2 separate regions of the Homo sapiens genome follow, and region 1 is linked to region 2. Evidence: promoter capture Hi-C in human tissues and cell types (Jung and others, 2019). All regions are on one chromosome and are shown on one strand. Each heading gives the region's core, a stretch centred on a gene start or on the middle of the fragment in contact. The rest is flanking DNA. Distances are from core to core; before and after follow the strand shown. Region 1 overlaps PHF24 (PHD finger protein 24). Region 2 holds the start of CCL21 (C-C motif chemokine ligand 21).

The links. Contacts are between HindIII fragments. The study calls those that stand out against the background at their distance.
Region 1: a contact is called between a fragment that was not itself captured here and the fragment with the promoter of CCL21 in region 2, in 1 of the 25 tissues and cell types used here (dorsolateral prefrontal cortex).

Annotation. Positions count from the first base shown.
Region 1 is chr9:34,974,235-34,977,946 of GRCh38, forward strand. PHF24 (PHD finger protein 24) reads left to right here. Exons shown (of 8, transcript NM_015297.3): 4 at 1,918-1,996; 5 at 2,301-2,506; 6 at 2,849-3,009; 7 at 3,312-3,407. Among named protein-coding and RNA genes, the nearest start is that of DNAJB5-DT, 13 kb to the right of the region's middle. The HindIII fragment of the contact is 7,622 bases long and covers 1-3,712 here.
Region 2 is chr9:34,708,482-34,712,118 of GRCh38, forward strand. It overlaps CCL21 (C-C motif chemokine ligand 21), which reads right to left and starts at 1,655. Exons shown (of 4, transcript NM_002989.4): 1 at 1,519-1,655; 2 at 1,296-1,416; 3 at 1,019-1,201; 4 at 524-946. The coding sequence starts at 1,585. The coding sequence ends at 913. It also overlaps a transcript of PHF24 not described here. The HindIII fragment of the contact is 9,492 bases long and covers 1-3,637 here.

The DNA.
Region 1 (3,712 bases), core at 847-3,346, 270 kb after region 2:
CTGACATCTGCATCCATCATTCTGCAGAACTGTTGCTTCCTAAGGTCACCAGTCACCTCCTAATTGTCAAGTCCACTGACCTTTTCTGAGGCATCTTCTTACTTGATCTCTCTGAAGTATTTATTACTTCTTTATTCCTCTCTCTTTTCTTTAGGATTTAAGTATTTTTATGAGAATTATTGCATAAGATATGGAAATGAGAGAAAATAGAAAGTCAATAAAATCCCACCTCAGTGGTGTAACCACCGTTAACATTACCTCCCACATTCTGCAGCTGTCTTTGCTTGGTATCCAGTACCTTCTTCTCTACTGATGCTCTTCCAGCCTTAGTCTCTGACCATTCTTTCTCAATGCCCTTTGTTAGTTTCTTGTCTCAGTCCTGTTTCTCAGGGTTCTGTTGTTTAATACTCTTCTTTTCTCACTGCGCCCTCTTTGGTGACTTCATCTACAGCCACCATCTAAACACTAATGACTCCTATTTCTGTGTGTCCAGACCTAAATTTCCTGTCTCTTGCACTTATCCACCTTGATATCTCACAAGTACTTCACACTCATCATGCCCCAAAATGAACTCATCTTTGCCCCCAAACCTGCTCTTCCTCCACTCCTTATCTCTGTGAATAGTAATACCATGCCCCAGTTACCAATTCCAGTTCAATCTCTCCCTCATGCCTCACATCCAGTGAGTCATCAGGTCCTGATGATGCTGCCTCTAATATCTCTCTTCCCTTCTTCATTCTCATGTCTCAGTTTAGCTGCTCATCATTTCTTGCCTGGACTGTTGCGGCAGCCCCCAACTGCTCTCCACACCTCCAGACTCTGCCGCTCTAATCCATCTTCCACACAGCAGCCAGAGATCTGACCACGGCACTCCCCACTTGAAAACCCTTTGGTGGCTCCCTTTTGCCCTCAGAATAAAGGCCTAATTTGAGGGGCTCGATAAAGGGTATTGGAGGTACTTCATAGTAGGCCCCCTCCTTCCCTCACACACACACTCACATGTACTCCAAACCTCAGCCACACTGAACATCTCACAGTGTTACACACCACTGTGGCGCCCAGTGTTTACTAGGTGCTCAGTAGGTGTTTATTGAAAGTATGGTTTGAAAGAAAAATACAACTATTATATATTAGTTTTTAAAAAGTGTTATGGAAGAAAAAGAATGGTTTGAGTTCTTTATGAAATCCACGTATGAATACTCATGAAATATCTGCTCTTGTACTTTGCGGGTATCTCAGAGGAAGAAAATGACCTTGTACTAGAAAGGATCTTTGATAGTTTAAAGACTGTATGGTAACGTCAACACAATAAGATATTGGTGCTCCTTTGGAATTAAAACTTCTGTGGCACTACAAAAAAACTCATTTGGCTTTAGGAGCCTTGTAATAATGGCATCTTTTAAAACCATTCTGGGGTTATTTAAAGTGATACAACCCACTTGGAGCAGAGCTAGGATTAAACTTTTTTTTTTTTTAACTAAAATACATTTTTAGCACAGCCTAACACAGAAGCCAAGTAGATAAAAGGGATGGAGATGGAGCCGCTCTGCTTGATGGAGATAGGGATTCACAACCTGCCTACTCACTAGCCCCCTTATTCCCTGCAGCAGCTTCCTAAGGCACTTCCAAGAAATCCCTAGGTTAGCTCAGAGGAGAAAACCACTGTTTTAGTAAAGGGACTCAGTGCTGGAGTCAGGATATCTGGGTTCTTGGGGAAGATTCTGCCCCAGAGTAAAGACAACTCTGGCCAAGTCCTTTCTCCTCTCTGGGGCCTCAATCTCATTGATTGTGAATAGGAGGCTGGGATTAGATGATCTTGGAACTGCTTTCCAGTTGAAATTCTATTTCTAGCCCCCTTGACCCTGGCCTTTCTTACTGGCCTGTATGGCCACCGACTCAGCTCTTCCTTATTTTCAGGACAACATCAACTTGCTGCTTACTGAGGAGGAAATGTATAGCCTCACGGAGACCTTTCAGCGGTGTAAAGTCATCCCTGGTAAGGTTGGGTGGTGCTGCATGGATGGAGAGGGGCCGGGCAGATTTCTCCTTCAGGCTTTCTAGAATGAACCATGAAAGGAGTGTTCCATATTTAGTGGGTAGAGGGTAAATGAGTCCTTGTTCCTGAGTTGTTGGCCAGCAGAGTCACCTATCCCTGTCACAGCCTGGGTGACCCTGGCCATGGGAGGCAGAGACTTAGCAAGAGCTGTGGGTTTGGGGGCCCCGAGGGTGCCCTGGAGGTGATGGAGGTGCCCTGAGGCTGAGGAAGGATGGGCATGGCTAGCACGGGGTGCCTCCCACAGATTGCTCCCTGACACTGGAGGACTTTCTGCGTTACCGCCACCAAGCAGCCAAGCGGGGGGACCGTGACAGGGCCCTGAGTGAGGAGCAAGAAGAGCAGGCGGCCCGCCAGTTTGCTGCCCTGGACCCTGAACATCGAGGCCACATAGAGTGGCCTGACTTCTTGTCCCATGAGTCCCTCCTGCTTCTGCAGCAGTTGCGTCCCCAGGTGAGGGCCAGTTGGGGCAAATGTTCCTGGGATACTGGGTGACAAGGGCCTGGGAGGCACGCTGGGCAGATTGGGGGAGCACTGGGTCCTGCTCAAGCAGGGACAAGTATCAGGAATGGGCTCAGGTTCCATCCAGTGACAGATGATCTGGTGCCCAGGCTGAGGAAACTGCGTGAGGAAGACTGATCTGCCCTGGGCCGCACTGGAAGTGCTGATGCCTCCAGAAGGGCTCTGGGCAGCTTCTAAGGGAGGTTGCAAAGGTGGTAATGGAGATAGGATTCTCTATGGCTTGGCAGTTTACAAGATATCTTCACCTCTAAGATCTTGTCTCTTCTTCCCCAGAACTCTCTGTTGAGGCTTCTGACAGTGAAGGAGCGGGAGCGAGCCCGAGCCGCCTTCCTGGCTCGGGGCAGTGGGAGCACCGTCAGTGAGGCAGAGTGCCGCCGGGCCCAGCACTCTTGGTTTTGCAAACGGTTCCCAGAGGCTCCTTCCTGCAGTGTCAGGTCTGCTCCTTACCAGTCCTGGTCCCCACTCAGCCTCTCCTCCTCCCTTTTCCATGCCAGTGGCCCTTCCATACCTCCCTGCTCCCCCTGCCAACAGCCGAGAGAGGAGCCTCCTGTGCATTAGGTAGAGGATGGTGATGCCTACGGGCCAGGGCATAGGACAGCCTCTGCCTTCAACTCGGTGTTGCCACATGTCAGAAGAGCCTGGATGAGCATGTCCAGAGCCTTGGGCTTACCAGAGTTTGGGAGGGGGCAGGCATTTCACTATCCCACTCCTAACCACGTGTCCTCATGCCCAGCAGCATCAGCCATGTGGGTCCCATCGCAGATAGCAGCCCAGCCAGCAGCAGCAGCAAGAGTCAGGACAAGACCCTGCTGCCCACAGAGCAGGAGTCCAGGTGAGTAGGACCTCCTCACCTGGCCATTTGTACCCTCTGAACCCCCACAAAACACACAAGTAAGAGAGGGCATTACCCACTCCCACTCCAAAACAGCAAGCGCCCACCCAAGAAACCAGGCTCCAAGAGTGCACATTTGACCCAAGTCTATAGGACCAGCCAGCTGGTCTGTTGGCCTGGTAGCACAGCCAGCCATAGCCAGGTCAGGCATGAGCCAAGCTTCCCTGAGTTTTGTGTAGCTCAAGCCATGCTGCCCCTGGGATCAGGGCTCACGCGTCTTCAAACCAGCCTCCTCAAGCCATGCT
Region 2 (3,637 bases), core at 405-2,904:
CTTTGCCTCCCAGGGGCTCTCTCAGGGCTGGAACTGTGCTAGGGCAGGTTTCAATATAACTTGTGTTTGTCTGTGTTATAGATGGGCCCAAGCCACAGCTTCCCTCCTAGGGACCCTTCCAAAGAACCACTTGGAGGGTCTCATTGAATAGTTCCCAGGGAAAAGAGAGGAAGCCTCTGGGATATCTGGGGAAAGGTCTGAAGGTCATGGAAAAGATCCGAAGGTCACCCCTGGAGTTAGTGCAGGACAGAATCAGGGTCTCAGAGGTCTGCAGAGCTGTTGGGGGTGTGTGCTCCATGTCCACCACCTCTCCATTGGCAGGATGCCTCAGAAGACTGGGTCCTACCCTGTCCTTCAGCCTCCCTTTAACTGCTCAGGGGTGCAGGCACCTGAGAGGCAAGGAAACTCTTGGGGTAGATGAGAACATAGCATTTTTCAGCCTGAGCTTTCGGCTCAGAGTGTGTGACCCCACCCTGTAGGAACCTTGGCATCTCGGTGGACATAAACACATGGGAACAGGTACTTGGGTGGGAAGACAGAACAGCTTTTTATTCAGTTAGGTATAAATCATATTTACAAGGAAGAGGTGGGGTGTACTGGGGAGCCGTATCAGGTCCAGGGTCCTGATGATTCTCCTTCAAGGGGACAGTCCTGCTGCCTCCTCTCATGCTCCCTGGGAGACTCTCCCTCCTCGGTCTCTCTGGACCTGGCCTGCTGTGGGCAGCTCAGCCATGCAGGGTAGAGCTGGGAATGCAGATGGGGTGGTTAAAGCAGGAGAAAGAGTGTGGCAAGGCCAGCATGGGGTGGCTGCTCCAGGGCCCCTGAGCATAGCCTCCTTCTTGCATCTTGGGTTCAGGCTTCAAGCGCTGGTGAGGCTGGTGGGGTCTCCAGGGCTCCAGGCTGCTCACTGGGCTATGGCCCTTTAGGGGTCTGTGACCGCTCAGTCCTGTGAGGGCAGAAGAGGGGTGTGAGGGGCTGACTGAGGCTCCCCTTTACCCACATCCCTCAGATTCCTCACCTCTTGCAGCCTTTGGAGCCCTTTCCTTTCTTGCCAGTCTTGGAGGCCCCCCTGTCCTTCCTGCAGCCCTGGGCTGGTTTCTGTGGGGATGGTGTCTTGTCCAGATGCTGCATCAGCTGCTGCACCCAGAGCTCCTTTGGGTCTGCACATAGCTCTGCCTGAGAGCGCTTGCGGGGCAAGAACCTGCGGGTGGGGGCTAGTAAGCCTTCTTAGTCTTGCCCACCATGCCCTCCCCACCCCGTCACCAGCCAGTACCCACCCCTTTGTGTCCACTCACAGGATAGCTGGGATGGAGCAGCCTAAGCTTGGTTCCTGCTTCCGGTAGCTGCGGACAACCTTGGCGGGAATCTTCCTTTGGCTGTACTTGAGGCAACAGTCCTGAGCCCCTCCATCACTGCCTGCAGGGTGGGATTCACAGGGAGCCAGGGGCTGCTGGCAAGCTCCTATCCAGGCCTCTTGATCCCCTTAGCCCCATGCAAGGCCCCTCCCTGCCTTGGTACCTTGGGTCCTGGGGATGCCAAAGGCCAGAACCAGGATAAGGAGGCTCAGAGCCAGTGACTGAGCCATGTCTGTGGTAGAGGGTGAGTAAGAGGCCAGAGCTGAGGGTGAGGTGGGCAGCTGCAAGTTGGGGGTCTGTGCGTGGGCTGGGATTGGCCTGCTATTTATGTAGCTAGACACTTTCACTTCCCTTAACTTATCCCCACTCCTTTTCCTTCCTGAAAGCTGGATTTGCTGGCACCCAGCCCCACTTATCTCAAACTAAGTGGACAGTCCTCAGCTGCCAAATTTTATGTCCTCATTAGTTGAATATGTCTGGGCCTGAGCCTTCCTTCTATTCCCAGCTACTGCTTTCATGCAGGCCTCACTGCCTCTCCCCTGGAACACCATGACTGTCTCCTCACTACGCTCCAGGATCCATACCCTTCCCCTCCTTCCAGCAAATCTGATTATTAAATTGTAAGAGTTCTTTTTTTTTTTTTTTTTTTTGAGACAGGGTCTAACTCTGTCACCCAGGCTGGAGTGCAGTGGTTGATCTTGGCTCACTGAAATCTCCGCCTCCTGGGCTCGAGTGATCCTCCTACCTCAACCTCCCCAGGAGCTGGGACTACAGGCAAGCACCACTGCGCCTGGCTGATTTTTCTATTTTTTTTTTGTAGAGACGAGGTTTCACGATGTCTAGCCCAGGCTAGTCTTGAGCTCCTGGGCTCAAATGATCTGCCTGCCTCAGCCTCTTGAGGAGCTGGGACCACAGGCACATGCCACTACGTCCGGCTACTGTTTTCATTTTTCATTTTTATTTTTTCTAGAGATGAGGTCTTGCTATGTTGCCCAGTCTGGTCTTGAACTCCTGGGCTCAAGCGATCCTCCTGCCTTGGCCACCCAAAGTGCTGGAATTATAGGTATGAGCGACTGCACCTGGTCTGTAGCATAACCATTTTGATTCCCCTTTGCTTTCCTTTTCTATATATTTTGTAGTTATTTTCCTAATGGATACCTTGGTGATTATAATTAACATTCTAAACTGATAACAACCTAGTTTGAATAATACCAACTTAGTTTCAATGGTATATAAACATTTTGCTCGTATACATTTTAGTCCCTTCTTTATATTGTTATTGTCACAGATTACATCTTTATACATTGTGTTCCCATTGACATAGATTTATAATTATTGTTTAATGCATTTTCCTTTTAAATTATATAGAAAAAAGTGGGGCTACAAACTAAAAATACAATACTAGCTTTTATCTTTTTTTTTTTTTTTGACACAGGGTCTCGCTTTGTCACCCAGGCTGGAGTGCGGTGGCACAATCTCAGCTCACAGCAGCCTCGACCTCCTGGGCTCAAGTGATCCTTCCACCTCAGTCTCCTGAGTAGTGGGGCCACCATGCCTGGCTAATTTTTGTATTTTTTGTAGACACGAGGTCTCACTATGTTGCCCAGGCTAGTCTCGAACGCCTGACCTCAAGCAATTCACCCGCCTTGGCCTCCCAAAGTAATGGGATTACAAGTGTGAACCAGCATACCTGGCAATGTTGTTACTTTTTTTTTTTTTTTTTTGAGACAGAGTCTCACTCTTTCGCCCAGGCTGGAGTGCAGTGGCGTGATCTTGGCTCACTGCAACCTCCACCCTCCGGGTTCAAGCCATTCTCCTGCCTCAGCCTCCCGAGTAACTGGGATTATGGGCACCTGTCACCACATCCAGCTAATTTTTCTATTTTTTGTAGAGATGGGGTTTCACCATGTTGGCCTGGTTGGTCTCAAACTCCTGACCTCAAATGATCCGCTCACCTTGGCCTCCCAAAGTGCTGGGATTACAGACATGAGCCACTGCGCCCAGCCTGCTATGTTGTTATGTTTATCAGAGATCTTTGTTTCTTTGTGTGGCTGTGAGTTATTATTTTTTGTCCTTTTGTTTCATTCTGAAGGTCTTCCTTTAGCATTTGTTTGTTTGTTTGTTTGTTTTTTCTTTCTCCCGTTAGCTTTTCTTGTGGGCAGGTCTACTATTAATGAACTTCCTAAGTTTTGTTTATCTGGAAATGTCTTATTTCTCCTTAATTCTTGCAGCATAGTTTTGCTGGATATATAGAATTCTTGTTTGACTTTTTTTTTTCTTCA